Linked DNA regions of Homo sapiens: regions 2, 3 and 4 are each linked to region 1. The links are contacts of gene promoters, found by promoter capture Hi-C in blood cells and fetal thymus (Javierre and others, 2016). All regions are on one chromosome and are shown on one strand. Each heading gives the region's core, a stretch centred on a gene start or on the middle of the fragment in contact. The rest is flanking DNA. Distances are from core to core; before and after follow the strand shown.

The links. The method cuts DNA at HindIII sites, captures the fragments that hold promoters and counts their contacts. A CHiCAGO score of 5 or more calls a contact.
Region 2: a fragment that was not itself captured here is called in contact with the fragment with the promoter of TMEM154 in region 1 in 1 of 17 cell types (total B cells); the score reaches 6.2 in total B cells.
Region 3: a fragment that was not itself captured here is called in contact with the fragment with the promoter of TMEM154 in region 1 in 1 of 17 cell types (monocytes); the score reaches 6.1 in monocytes.
Region 4: a contact is called between the fragment with the promoter of GATB here and the fragment with the promoter of TMEM154 in region 1, in 7 of 17 cell types (non-activated CD4 T cells, naive CD8 T cells, activated CD4 T cells and 4 more). The highest score is 10.1, in non-activated CD4 T cells.

Annotation. Positions count from the first base shown.
Region 1 is chr4:152,678,342-152,681,893 of GRCh38, forward strand. TMEM154 (transmembrane protein 154) reads right to left here and starts at 1,656. Exons shown (of 7, transcript NM_152680.3): 1 at 1,529-1,656. The coding sequence starts at 1,592. It overlaps LOC105377495 (a long non-coding RNA gene), which reads left to right and starts at 1,744. Exons shown (of 4, transcript XR_939359.3): 1 at 1,744-1,963; 2 at 2,246-2,332; 3 at 2,734-2,799; 4 at 3,022-3,321. RefSeq lists enhancers at 1,290-2,119, 1,430-1,739. The HindIII fragment of the contact is 2,211 bases long and covers 1,188-3,398 here.
Region 2 is chr4:153,521,378-153,525,051 of GRCh38, forward strand. All of the region lies in intron 3 of TMEM131L (transmembrane 131 like), which reads left to right. Among named protein-coding and RNA genes, the nearest start is that of TMEM131L, 57 kb to the left of the region's middle. RefSeq lists enhancers at 1-118, 1,402-1,451, 1,625-2,465. The HindIII fragment of the contact is 2,349 bases long and covers 867-3,215 here.
Region 3 is chr4:151,859,084-151,862,575 of GRCh38, forward strand. All of the region lies in intron 2 of LOC127898557 (a long non-coding RNA gene), which reads left to right. Among named protein-coding and RNA genes, the nearest start is that of LINC03074, 95 kb to the right of the region's middle. The HindIII fragment of the contact is 9,737 bases long and covers 1-3,492 here.
Region 4 is chr4:151,759,358-151,762,753 of GRCh38, forward strand. It overlaps GATB (glutamyl-tRNA amidotransferase subunit B), which reads right to left and starts at 1,650. Exons shown (of 13, transcript NM_004564.3): 1 at 1,450-1,650. The coding sequence starts at 1,625. RefSeq lists an enhancer at 1,366-1,645. The HindIII fragment of the contact is 14,733 bases long and covers 1-3,396 here.

The DNA of each region.
Region 1 (3,552 bases), core at 406-2,905:
ATTTTTTAGAAGCTAAAAAAAAAGTTCAGGCAAGATGAATTAGTATTAAGGGAGTGTTTGAGGCACCTGTGGCAGTGTTGTGCAATAGAAGAGGTGGAAGGAGGATGGCTAGGCTTTTCTTCCCTGATGTCCTACTACGAAAGGTTCCAGAGCTCTTGGCAGAGACAGTGATTGGTTCCGGGGCGGCGGTGGGGGGAGGGGGGCAGTGGTGGTGGGGGGTGGAGGAGCTCAAAGAACTCTGGAGTAGAAGCCAGAAGAGCTGACTAGCAGCAAGACCCAGACATCTCCCTTCTTCCACCTCTGTTTCTTCACCTGTGTGCCCAATATGGTTTGAGCTGCATCATCTTCAAGTTCCCTTCCAGCTCCAAAACACTGGGCATAAAACAACACATCAACTTCCAAACCCACTCTGAACACTAAACTCAATTTAACCAGACATCTTTTCAGCTGGAATGATTTGCCTTCCACTTTGTTTTCTACCTCAGATGCCTGGGGGACCACATGGAGAACACCCAGGGGAAGAGAAATTGATGGAGTGGGGTGGCTGGGTGCTGGCTGCTGACCTCCAGGAAGTTGTCACATCTGTTAGGTTGGGGCTGATGTCCCTCATTCTATCTAAAGAACTGTAGCTTGAGAACTTTCCTTTTGCTTGGTAAATACTGCCCTACACTAGAAGCAGTCGGTGTTCATTGACAGAAACAATGGGCAGCCAGTGTATTTGCCCAAAGGCAAGTCAACAAGAGAGGCAGCTGAAGGTGCTTGTGCTTGTTGTAGCAACTGGCAAGGGTGTAAATCAGTTGTTGCTTTTAGCCCATAATAATGAGATTCAATATTGTTTTTTCCAATACCTTTGATTGGTTCCAATCATATTACTTTTTCAAACAAATCTTCATTAGTAACAATCAATGCAAAAAAAAAATCTGTAAAAGTAACAAGGTGCAATAAAAGTAGATGAAAGACCTTACTTGATGTGTTAGAGGGCTACCCTCTAACACATAGCTCTTTGGTAGCTCTTCGGATAATTTCCCGTTTCCTTTTTTTTTTTTTAAGTTTATGTCGTTTCTTTAGTATGCTTTCTAGTAGTAAATTTTCACACCCCAGTTTTTCCAGGAGATTTTGGAATCAGCAGACTTCTCAGCCCACACCATAAAAAGCAAATTAATCATGTCTCTGTTTCAGCCAATTGAAGCTTTTGTTTTTTTTTACATAAACTGCCAAAAAGTTTATGGTTTTCTTAATATGCCCATTAAAGCTGGTAAATTACAGGGACGCACACTTCCTGGAAGACAAAGACTGAAAGAGGGTTAAATGAAGTGAGAGCTGTAGCCAGTTTAGACAGCTGCAGCGAAAGCGAAGTCCCCTCTCCATCCCACCCCCCAAAAAAAGGAGTTCTAATTTTCTCCACTTCTTTCACAGAAAGGATTAGATTTTCTGGGTGTCACCCTCCCCGGCAGAGTTCTGTAGCCTCGGGCACCCTACCAGCTTTTGCGATCCTCCTTCCCAGGAGTAGGAAGTGGAGGCGGCTTACCCCGGCCGACGGGAACGAGCGCGATCACCAGGGCGAAGACTAGGGCTGCGCGGGGAGCCTGCATGTCCGCTCGCCTCGGCAGAGGCGCGCTCAGGATGCTGCGCCGGGCTGCAGCCTCTCTGAAACGTGAACATTTCCTGTTTCCTGCTTGTTTGGGTCGGTGCTGACTTGAAGGAGAGGTGTGTGCCTGTTTTTTAGGAAGTGATGTAATTCTGCAGGAGCCTGTCAGACCAGCAAGGATTGCAAAAGAGAAGTTGCTGTTGAAGCACTGGTTCTATTATCACGCCTCTCCAGCCCTTTGGAGTCCCGGCCTCCAGCTTTTGAAACCGTCCCCGGGGCAACAGAGTCCCTTGCTCAGATGTCGTTCGGTATCTGGGACTGGGAGGGGTCCTGGACCACACGCATTCTCACTCTGTGATTTTGCTTATCCCCCAGGTGAGGCTCCGGGGCTGCCTAGACCCTAGGAAGAAGCTGTCCTGTAGAACTTTCTGCCCTGATGGAAATGTTCCAAGTCTGCGCCGTCTGATACAGTATCAGCCACATTGGCCACTGAGCATTTGAACTGAGGCTAGTGCTGATGGAATTTAAATTTTATTGAATTTTTATAAAATTTTAATAACTCCAAGTGGCTAGTGGCTGCTGTGTTGGATAGCGCAGGCCCAGACAGCAGGGACAACTGCATCATCAGAAAACTGCCAGACCACTTCTCTCCGCCAGGTCCATTCTCCTTTCTCCACTCTGGAATGCCCTCCTCCCACCAAGGCCCACGCCAGATGGAGGTGGATGCCACACCCACACCTTAAGGTTATGTTCTGCTTCCCCAGAGAGAAATGATCTTTTCAAGGTCCATTTCCAAAGGAGAATATGCTCTGAGGGTGGAGGTAGGGGTGAATCTGCATCTCACCTTCCTTCCTTCTTACTTGACAATCAAGTTCTCAGACAACAAACAAAACAGGACAGAAACGAAATAGAATAATGGTAGAAATCCTATCCAATCGAAACAATACAGAAAGGTTGTGTCTAGTATACAGTGGAGATTAGTGTGTGTTGGGTGTTCTATTGGAGGTCCTTCCCTTGGTTTAGGTTTAGGGCCTAAGCATTCAGAATGCAGTTTCATAATCGTGGTGCCAAGAGAGACAGACAGATGGAGAGAGGGGTAGTGTTGAGGCATCAGACACATCTCATCTCTAAACCTTTCCCTGCAGATCACCATCTGAGTCATGACTTCCCGTCGTTTGTCTTCAGTGATCTGGTTGGTGCAAACGTATGAGGTGACTGGAATTCCTTAGCCCCTGACATAGCTGTTAATTTTTCTTTAATGCATTGCTGCTTTTCAATGTCATTAGTCACTGTTTATCTCAGTTATTATTCACAAGAAATAGGTTGGTGATTCATGTAAGGATCAGTTTGTTAATGGATTTACAGTATGCACTTTAATGTTTTAAACTGGCAATTAAGTCAATTCTTGATAAAATATGCTTTTTGCACCACAGGTGACAATACAGAACAAACAGCAGGAGAAAATAGACGTGCTCAAAACTGGGTGATTGATTTGAAAACAACAGAGAAAGAACTATTAATTAAACACTTGCTGAGCATGTGAATAGATCACGGGCTCCAAGACCTGCTGGTACTGAGTTGGGGTGGCAATTATTCCTGTACAAGCACGTGTTTCTGCAGCTGTGACACACACGTGCAAGAAAGCAGGCCCAGGGCTTGGGAGTTCTCTCCATTTTACCATTTATGCCCTATTAAAATATTATTAAATGTTATTAAAACATTGTTGAATCCCAGGCTGGAGGCAAATGTTTGTCAAGGGCAAGGTTGTCAGCCTTCGTTTCTTTCATCTTAAACTTCAGCTCCCTGTGGAAGCTTTTGCAGTCAGGTGTCTGTGGATTGGACCACAGACTGTCTTATTCTGTGGACCTCTGCTGAGCCCCATGACATGGCCAAACAGTTCATTACTGTTTCAACAAGTGCACTATGCATTGCTTCTGAGCAGTGCAACACTAAATCAGAGTGAG
Region 2 (3,674 bases), core at 791-3,290, 840 kb after region 1:
GAGTCTACATTATAATCACTAGAACCATTGTACATTGCTATAGGAAAGGACACGTGCTGTTAAATACAGATAGACCTTATTTTGCACCAAATACATTCCTGAAAACTGTTCTTTTTACTTAGTTATTTTTTAAATTGGGGTACAATAGACGTAACATTAAATTTACCATTTTGACCATTTTTAAGTGTACAGTTGAGTGGCGTTAAGTATACCCATGTTACAGAGCAACTATCGCCACCATCCGTCTCCAGAAATCTTTTCATCTTGTAGAACTGAAACTGTGCCCATTGAACAATAACTCCTCATTCCTCCCTCCCGCTCAAGCCCGTAGCACCCACCCTTTTACTTCCGTCTCTGTGGATTTGACTACTCTGCGTGCTTCATAGGAGGGAGAATCATACGTTACTTGTCTTTTTAGGATTGGCTTCTTTCATTTAGCGTAATGTCTTCAAGATTTATCCATGTTGTTGCATGTGTTTTCTGTGTTTTTTTTTTTTTTTTGTTAACATCATGTTGTTATTACACAAGAAGTGCATGTTTATTTTACAGTTTTTCAACAGTATACAGAAGAATAAAAAGATTACATTATTCCCCTACCCAACATAACTTTTGTTATTTTGGTGTATGTGCTTCTACTGAGCCTGCAACTTAAAGCAGAATCGTTTAGAGTGAAATCTTACACGTGCTGCCCTGGGACCTCTGGTTTTCTTGGGTGTGAGAGGAACTGTTGAATGTAAATTTTCAAGAGAGTGAGAAATCAAGTGTGGGTCTGTGAGGCTGTGGTGAAGGAGCCGGAGGAGAAACGTGGAGTGGTGAAGTGGGAACCCTCAACCGCCATTTGTGAAATGGGACGTTCTCACCTTTGAAGCTTGAGCTTGTGGGTTTTGAGTTCCTGTTTTGTGCCCTTTTAATGTCAACTTTCTAAGTTCATAAGTTGGTAGGAAATAGGTGTCCTAACTTCCATTGTGTGCAGATAATAGGAGACTTAAATAAAAGGTGGGTGAGAAGCAGGGATGTTGCATGCCAAGCACTAGGGGAAGGAGGAGACCGGGATGGAAGTAAACGTGAAGGCAGTGCTGCGGGCAGAGGGACCGCCCTCTGGGCTCCCTGGGACTCGGTCTGTGTGGCTCTTCCAGGAAGCGTGACCCTTCCCCCTGCCTCATGCTATTTCTGCCAGAACGCTTTGGTGCCCTACCGAGCTCTCTCTTCTCGTTTGGCTCCACCCAGTAAGATGGAGTTCCTTAAGAGCAAGGTCCTTCAGTTATTTCTTATTTTTTATCCCCAGCACCTAGCTGGGTTCCCTCGCCCTAGCCAGTCTTTAATAAATGCTTCTTGGAATGAAAGAATGAGAGCCTGCCCAGAAGGTGGTCATTCCCATATCTCATCGTGTGCCACAGCCCATTTCATTTCTCACCTCACCTCCCCATCCCCATCCTTTGTGAAGTCCCCTTCCTGGAGGGCCTCCCCATCCTCCCACTATCACTGCCCACAGACTACTTTGAGCAATGGGTTGCTTGAAGCCCTGCCTTGAGTTACACTGGGTGATCTAGACCAGGCAGAGGAAATCCCCATTGCCTTTGCCTGGGCTACAGAGCTTGGGTTTTCCCTTAGTCCACTCTGATACATGGTAGTTAGACTTTATAGGACTTAAGGATGAGTAGGTTTTTGTGGCTTGGTTTGCTCACCTAATCATCAACGTACTGTGTTTCTTAGTTCTTAAAAAAAATAGTTTAAGGCCATAGGATTACCTGTATTTTTAACTTTTGTGCCCTTAGAATTTTATGTTAGAATAAAATCTGAAATATAGTTTCTTGTGACTATAATTCCCAAATGTTATGTCAGGCATTGGCAAGCCATGTTATTTAAAACTGCCAGAAGTATGTTGCCTTTTAAGTGGAAGTATTTGTGAAACGTATGAATTTCCTAGTATCCCTCTAGGCTGCTGTGTGTTGAATGGAATTCCTTCTATAAGACGTGAGATTAGGCAGTTTGCCTTAAGCTAGCAGAGGGGACTAGCTATTCATTTTAGGAATGAATGGAGGCCAGAGAGAAGCATAATAAGCCAAAACTTAAAATTCAGAAGGGAAATAGCACTACATTGTTTAGGAGGAAACTAAATCTGTGGCATAAGTCTGAAGGTAAGACTTGGTAAAAAGAAGGGGAAGTCTTTGAGGAAGAAGAATTGAGGCTTTAGAAAATGCAAAGGCTGACATTTGCAGAGCTGGTCGGCTAGTTGTTTTGAAGAGGGTGCTAATGGGAAGCACTCAGGAGGTTGTGTGCTTCTAATTGGCCTCAAGTTTTATAGTTGAATTTTCATGGATCGTTATCATATTATTATTGATGGGATTATGGAGAAAAGTCTGCGGTTAGTGTTAAAAGAAAATTAAAATATTTCCAAATCAAGGCCACACCCAGAAAAGATCTCACCTTTACTCCTGCAGTCAGGCTGATAGATTACATAGCAAGTTGTATTTTGTTTTGTACCCCATACTCAGGGTGATACCCAAGGTTTTACCTAATCAGAGGAGGCCTCAGCCTTCCATAAAGGGAGCATGTTCTGTTTGATTATCAGCCCTGCCCTTACTTCATGACATAGTTTTCTCATTAGAAAATTCATGTTTATTGTAGGAAGATTAAGTAACTCAGAAAAGAACAAAGAGAATAAAAGTCGTCATCACCCAATCTCCTGGCTGAGAACTGATTTACCAGCACGTCTCACTTTAGGTTTTCTGTCTTTCCCATGTTTCACTTCTGTTTTTTTTTTTTTTTTTTTTCCTGTCTTAGCTGCAAAGTCTAGTGGGGAATTTGGCCCCTGGCTGCTCTGGATTGCCATTCTCAGAGCTTTGCATTCTCAGGAGTTCCCTTCCAGGGCATGTAGCCCAAGGACTCTGATGGACCTGCCCTAGGTCTCTCAGCAGAAGGAGGGGCAGCAGCTAAGTTGTGTGTGTCGGTTGAGGCCATAAGCGAGGGCTACTCCCTGCTGGCAGTCCAGGTCTTCTCCCACAACACTTTGTAAATTTTAAAAAGGCCAAAAAGAAAAATAGTTGCTAATATCAAGGACACAGATATATGTTTTAATGACTGACATTGTTTGCAGGTAAATATGTCAAAGGGAGAGTTATATTTTTATGAGCTTTATGTGTGTCTTATTTTGAAGACAGTTTATACAATAATGATGCATGCTTTTTATTTTAAGGGACTTTGTAAAGAAGATAAGCTTGTCTAATAGTGCATGGGATTGCTTGGTAGGAGGCCTAGGTTTGTTTCTTAGCTCAGCTGTTTAACCAGATCCTTGACTTTGGGCAAGCACCCCTCTGGGTTTCCATTTCGTGGCCTGGAGGAGGAGAAATTTAGACCCTGTGGTCTATTAAGGTTACTTCCAACATAAAACTCCCATGTTATGGGTTGAAGCCTGATTTTATCACTTTATGTTATTTAGAGGATTTGTAGCTGTGTCATAGATTTTGTGCAGTGTCGCCATTGCTGTGATTTATTTGGTGCCTTTGGCCAGGATGTAACCCTTCAATTACAGTGTAGTTCCCATGGGAAGGTATGATATTGGCTTCATGTTGTGGGTTCTAGGAATGTTCCATGGAGGTAAAGCAGGGGCTATCTCTGTAAGTAGTTTCATTGGATGGCTCGTGTTTTAGGACCACACTGCTGTTTGGCTAGTG
Region 3 (3,492 bases), core at 444-2,943, 820 kb before region 1:
ATGTTCTCAGGAGAGCAAATAATTCCCAGGGTCTTCTCCTGGCATTATAGGTCATTTCTAGGCTATTGTTCTACAACTGCTTATTCTTAAAGTGTTTTAACTTGAACTTGCCCTGAAGTTGAAATTTCTGTACCACTTTCTGTTGAGCCTTGAAAAGGCTCTCTCCTATTGACTTACCATTTCACTTAGAATATCTCGGGGTCATCTACCACTCTGAGAGTTTCACTGCACACCTAGTTCTTCAAATCTCTTAATAAAATTATTCACCAAAGATTGGCACCTCTTGACCTCTGAGAGATCTTACCTTTTACAAAGAAATGAGTCTTTTTTATTACCCAGTTTTCCTTGCTGAAATTTAATTATTTGTCCACTTCGAATAGTCTGTGACTCCTATGGTGATCCATTCATTCTTTACTCACCCATAATCAGGTTTTAGTGTAGACACTTGACAAAGACATTTTCAAAGCCTGCAAAATGACTCACTCCCCTTACCCTGTGTACCCCCAAGGAACTTTGAAAATCAGACCTGATTCCTCCATGTAGAACCCATCCTGCGTTTGCCTCCATGGGTGTGTTGATTCAAACTTTCTGCAATTTTGTACTTTATTTAAAGATAAATTTGTACTTTATTCCAGCAGCCTGGCTGGTATGGAAGGGAGAAACTAACAGTTGGTTTCCCAGGGTCCCCTCTGGAAAAGCAGGCTGAGGCTTAACATTGGCAACCCGACTGTCCTGCAGCACCGCAGCTGTTGCAACAACTGGTCTCACATCATAGTCGACAGTTCCACAGTTCTGCCCATGAATTCATTTGAAATTCCTAGGTGTATCACATCCTATCTGGGTGATTTATTGATATCTGTTTTGTCAGAGAAGACTAGAACATTCTGTGCATCTACTATGATTTTATTGAATGCTCCAACCTGTCCATTTCAAGGGCATGCATCTTCCTTGGTAAAGGGCAAGGCAAAGCATTAATGCATTGTCGCTTCTATCTTTTCTTTCATTCCTTTGTGCATTCCATGAATGCCCTCAGTTTTTTGTTTTTGTTTTTGACATTCTTTGGAGTTTCTTACAAGGTGCCCTTTAATAGATCATAGAATTTCAGAAGTAAAAGAAATGTTGAAATGTAGTTTGGTCCAAACACCCCATTCTAAAGATGAAAAAAGCTGAAGTTGAAAGAAGTTCTGTGACTTGATCTGACACATTGAATGGCTTCTGTTTCCATTTTGGTTGTGTGTGCTTATTTTTTTGATATTTCTGTTAATTTGAAATTTTGAATAACTTGGCTTTCCTTTTGGACCTTAAAATGTTGTCCTTTTGTAAGTCTCTGTGGTGCTACAAAGAGGCTATCTCATCAACGCTGTTGCCTGTCCACCTGGCTGCTGATCAGCTTGATTCTGCTATCCAGGATCCAGGGGATCCTAAGGTACCAAGCCTCTCTGCTCAACCCTGCCCAGTTCAGGAATCTCTCTGCCTTGACATTTGCTACAGCTTCTGCTTGTCGCCACCCTCTCACAGAGAACTTGTTTATTTCTCCACAGTTAAAAATTCCTGGTTACAATGTGTTCCTTTTATAAAAACGGTCTGCTTTCCAAAAGGCTGCTTTCTCAGAGCATTTCACTTTGCCATCTCTGTCGGGGGATCTGAGCCGTGACATACGCAGGGTTGAAGTGGGATGGGATGAGATGGGAAGCCCTTGCATATCTTTCTGGAGGGTGTGAAGCCAGCCGGCTTCTTTTGACTCACCATCCTGCTGTCTTATTTTTACAGCGAAAAGGAGGCAAACGCCATCCTCCTTGCTTTCAGCCTTCGTTTTGAGCGCTGCACACCCATGAGTACCGCCAGGGGTTCCCATCCAGACCGCGTGGCTATTTCCACTCCCATGATGTCCACAGCGGCCTTTATCAGCCACCTGGGCACTGGAGCAGGGGCCTCCTGCTTTCTTATTCGGTCTCCCATCTAGTTGGTCTGTGCTAGGGCTGGGAGTACCATGGGAATAAAAACCGAACATGTCATCCCTTTCCTCAAGGCTGTGGTTCCTGGTGCCCCCCTAGTTTCATGCAGGGTGTCTAAGGCAAGGTCAACATCCTCTTGGCACACAGCAAGACCTCAGTGAGCCTATGTTCGGTGCTCATCATTGGATATATTTCAGCAGGGTCTCTCTGCCTCCACTGTGGCCCCCTGGAATGGGTTTATTGTTCATGCAACAGCCAGAGAGGATGCCAAAAAATGCACATCCAGTCATGCCACTGCTCTGCCCAATGCCTTCCTCCCACACACAATGTCTCCCCCGTCACGTTACCCTGTGATAGAATGAATTCCTGTCCCCATTTTCATGATACTTGATAACTCGTACTCTGCCGCAGCCTCACCGTGGCCCTGGTGTATTTCCGGTCCCTTGATTTGACTTAGTCACATCATGTGCTTTGTCCTTGGGACGGCAGTGGCCCTCACGCCAGCAGATGCTTGTCATGAGCCTGTGCGGCTGGATTTACGCTCCTCATGTCTGCCACTGCCAGGACAAGAACAAGAGCAGTTGCTCCTGCCTTTTGCATCTTGGGTCCCAGAATGAAACACGTGGAGGAGGCCTGTCCGGGCTGAGCCGATGATGTGCAGTGAGACGCTTGCTGCTGTGTGCCACTGAACATCTGTCGTTGCCATGCAGCAAGAGCTGATTGATGCAGAATCCAAAGCCTTACCTCGTGGTCCTGAGTGTCCTCTCTGACAGCATTTTTGTACACTCTCGCCCTCATGGATTGTGCTCCAGCAGTGTGTTCCTGCCCCAGGGTTTTGCCTTTGTTGTGTCCTCCACTTATAATTTTATTTCCTTCAACTACCTGTTTGGAGCTCTGGTAGTGATAATTGTGGTGAAGCAGGATAAGGGGCTAGTGAGTCCCGGCGGGGGCAGGAGGAGGCTGTTTTAGATGGGGTGGTCCGAGGAGGGGACATCTGAGCAGAGAACTCAAAGGGTGAGGGAGTGAGGGAGCAAGCCACACGTATCAGTGGGGGCAGGGGGCCCGGGCGTGTTCCTTGCAAACAGTGTCTTCTAAGCACTCTATGGTTTTCTTCCTGCGTTAGTGGCTTATATGAAGGACCTGGAAACTCCTTTCTTCCCTCCTCATCCTACCCATATCCTTCTCATTGTGAATTGAGGCCAATCCCTTCCAGGTCCCTCGGCTTCCTAGGAGATTGAGGTCTGCCCCTGGCCTATGTTCCCAGGGTGCCCTGGCAGCTCTCCAGTTATTTGTTGGGGAGGACCATCTTGGGTTCATAGCCAGCTAAGAATAAAGAAGTTAGACTGGGAAAAATGATATTTAGGAAGAGTTTTAAAACTTATTCACTCTACCATTCTTCTAAGTATTCTGAACCTTCTTCTGGGTACAACCAGGTTGGTAGGGAGCTGATTACTTGGGTGTCATAGTAGCCTCCAATCCATTGCTGGAGTTGAGTGCTAATGCCCCGTATTATTATTATTCAGAGACAGAGGCTTGC
Region 4 (3,396 bases), core at 400-2,899, 920 kb before region 1:
TGGCAACATTCTACTACTAGAGAAATAATGATAAATAGTTCCACGTCTCTTATTTAAAAAGGAAATTCTCAACCATGTTTTGGTTTGCATGTATAATAACCAGAGAGACACAGATACAATAAATCACCACTAAATGATACTCTTAAAAAAATTTTGCAAAACTCCACCACACTAAACCATCTGATGCGGCATATTTTTGGTCCCCCAAATCACTTTCAATTCCTGAGACCTAATTTCAGGTTACTTTTTTAATGCTTATTTGCTATCAAATCTAAGAAGCTGTTAAATGCTATAATAATCTCTCTTATCTGGTCAGTCCTACTCTGTTGGGTCTGTACATAGGCCTCTCCAGGTCCTTATAAATGTGCTTATTCCCTATGAAATCCATGTATGTTCCTATCCTGCTCTTCTCCCAAGTAATTTTGTGTATATACATATATATATATATACATATTTTACATCGTTTTGTTTTGTTTCAATCATTTCAACATATAAAGTTCTATATCTGAAGTACTGCAAGAATAAGTCCTTCTTTTTAAAGTTTGGAAACACAGCCCATAAGGGAGGGGAATTAAAGTAGGAACTCATTAGAAATTCTGCATGCAGTAAAGCACCATTCAAAGTATTTTTGCATTTCCATTACATGAGAGAAAAAATGTACTTTCCATTCACAAGGAAACAATCTAATTCACGAAAAGAATACAAAACTGAATACTTCTTTCTGGACAATTTCCCTCTGTTCCTCCAACTGAAAGTAAAAATAATGCCAACTAGTCTCAAAGAATAAACAAAATATTAGAAACTTGCCATATGTTTCTGTATTTAAAGAGAAACTATTTAATTCTTACATAATGAAGCATAAACAGCTGTTCAGGGGATATCTGGCCAAATAAGCAAAACTCTCCATATAACCAGGGGGAGTATCTCTTCTTTTGGCTGCGTCCTCCTAGGTCTAGTCACACATATTCCAACATAAAACGCCTGCACAGATAGCTAGTGTTTTCTGACTAATGACAATAACCCACCACTACCAAGAGCTTGTAGGTAAAGGCTCCCTTTCTACCTTTAGAACGCTGCCAGCCCATACTAGCGCTAAATAAAATCAGCTAAATATGATCCCGCTTCTCGTGTCACCGTCCCCACTGCTAGTGCTATTAGTAAGATGACCGAATCCACTCTTCTGTCTGTGCACCCTTCAAGAAAATATTTGCTATTTTACACTCGCGAATTCCCCAACTACATCTATTTGAAAACAGTGGTTTATATATGGGGGCGGAGTTGATAGAAAGTCTGTTTGTGCTTTTATTTAGGTTTCGGGGCTCCAGGTTATAACTCAACGCCCTCCCGTCAGCCAAAACGTCTAGAAGCTGGGCCGTAATTGCCATTATTTCCCCAGTCCTGCAGTTCCACCTCACAGTTAGGTGGGCAGAAATGTATGAAACAGAATACCCTTTCCTCGTCTTCTGGGCCGTGTGGAGGGGCTGCTGAGCCACTGAGCTCTCTCCCCTAATCTGGTTGGATGTGGACCCAGTCGGAGCCCCTCTTCGGTGGCAAGAACCACCGTCAACCCGGGCGAAAGCCCAACGTCTTCCACGGCAGCCCCAGCGCAGCATGGGCGCCGCCATTGTAACTCCAGGGTCTTGGTCAGGTGACTCAGCCTCACTATGCCGCGAGGCTCCCTGGGAAGCGTAGTTCTGGAAATGCATTAAAAACGCCATAGGCTCGGACCGGAAGACTACTATTCCCGGCGAGCATTGTGATTCGAAGCCTGCCGGAACCCCGCGGAGAGGGGAGGGAAGGAGAAATAGAGGAGAGGGTGGGAGGGTTTCTGGGTGGGGAGGTGTGACTCCTCCTAGCGGGGAGTTGGAGAGGTTTGTGGCTGTGAGCGTGTGTATAAGTTAGAGTGTGAGCGCTTGATGCTTGGTGCTAAAGCGTGGCCGGGATTTTATAACCCAGTTAACCTTGCAAGGGGAAGTAAATGACCTTGACAGCTCAGCAGAGACTTCCTCAGCCCCCAAACCCAATCCGTTATATTCTCTGTCTACTCTCCTGCTTCACTCAGCAATTTGTGCGTTAATGCAACAAATACTTATTTGCATGCCTACCGTAATGCCAGGCTCAGTTCTCTTAGGCACTGTAGTTACTGCAGAGATCAAGACAGTTATGGCCCGCATGTTCATGGAGCTTACATTCTAAAGAAGGGAGACATACAGAAGTTAACAAAAATAAGATACTTCCATATAGGTAGTAAGTGCTATGTTTAAGCAGAGGTAATTGGAGACAAACAGCCCTAGATTGAATGTTCATGTACATTTTAACCTCCTTTTTATTATTGGCCAGTATCAGAAACACACTCCTTATATGCTAGGAGCAGATACCATCGTCCCAGCGGACTTCCTTCATTTTCCTGTGTCAAAACTAATACCCCTTGTTAAAACTGCCACCGATTTCTTGTGTTTGAACACAGTCTAGAATAGTCATTTAGCCACTCTCTATTTCATCACCCGACTTTGATTGTCCTCGTAGTGCTTTTGACTGCCTGATGTTTATCTTCTATTTCCACAAATTCCTCGTCTGTCTTATTCACTACAGTACAAAGTAGGTTCCTTAAAAATATTTGTTGAATAAAGTAGTGCAGTGTGGAGAATGCATTTGACAAAGGATGGAGTGGATGCCCTTTGGAGCAGTAATTGTTTAGGGGAGAGATGATGAGTTAGGGTGGTGGCAGAGCCAAAGAGAAATGGATCTGTTTGAGATAGATATAGGAAGTAAAATTGAAGGACTCTGATGGATTGGATATGATGGTGGAAGGCTAGGAGAAACAAATAACTCCTGGATTTCTGGTTTGCACAACTGGCTGATGAAGTTATCCACCGAGATAAGGAAACCAGAAAAGGAACAGGTTTGCAAAGAAAACATATGAGTTTGGTTGCCTTGGAGACATTCAAGAGGAGAAATCAAGTAGACATCAGTGATGCCTAATTCTGAGTATAGAGCAGGGCAAGGGGAAAAGCTGCATATTTTGTATACTTCACATTGATAGATTTTCAGTTATTGATCAATAATCCATTGATTAGTTGGCTGTAACCTTTGATCTTTTCCTTTAATACACTTCAATTGCATATCCATATGGAAGAAAGAAACTTTAGTTACTGTCCTTAAAATTGTCATCATTTATTTTTTCCATCTTTTCTACTTTTTCATCCACTATCACTGTTCTAAATTGCCACACCAGAAGTATCAGTCATTTGACCAAGGATGAAAATGACAAAAATGACAGGGACTGGAAGGGAGTGGTGGAGACTTGTTCCAAAATTTCTCTCTAATTATTGCCCTTTATTTAAGGTTCAGATGATTCTCTAGATCCTTTACTAGAGTCTTCCCTCTGAGTTTCCA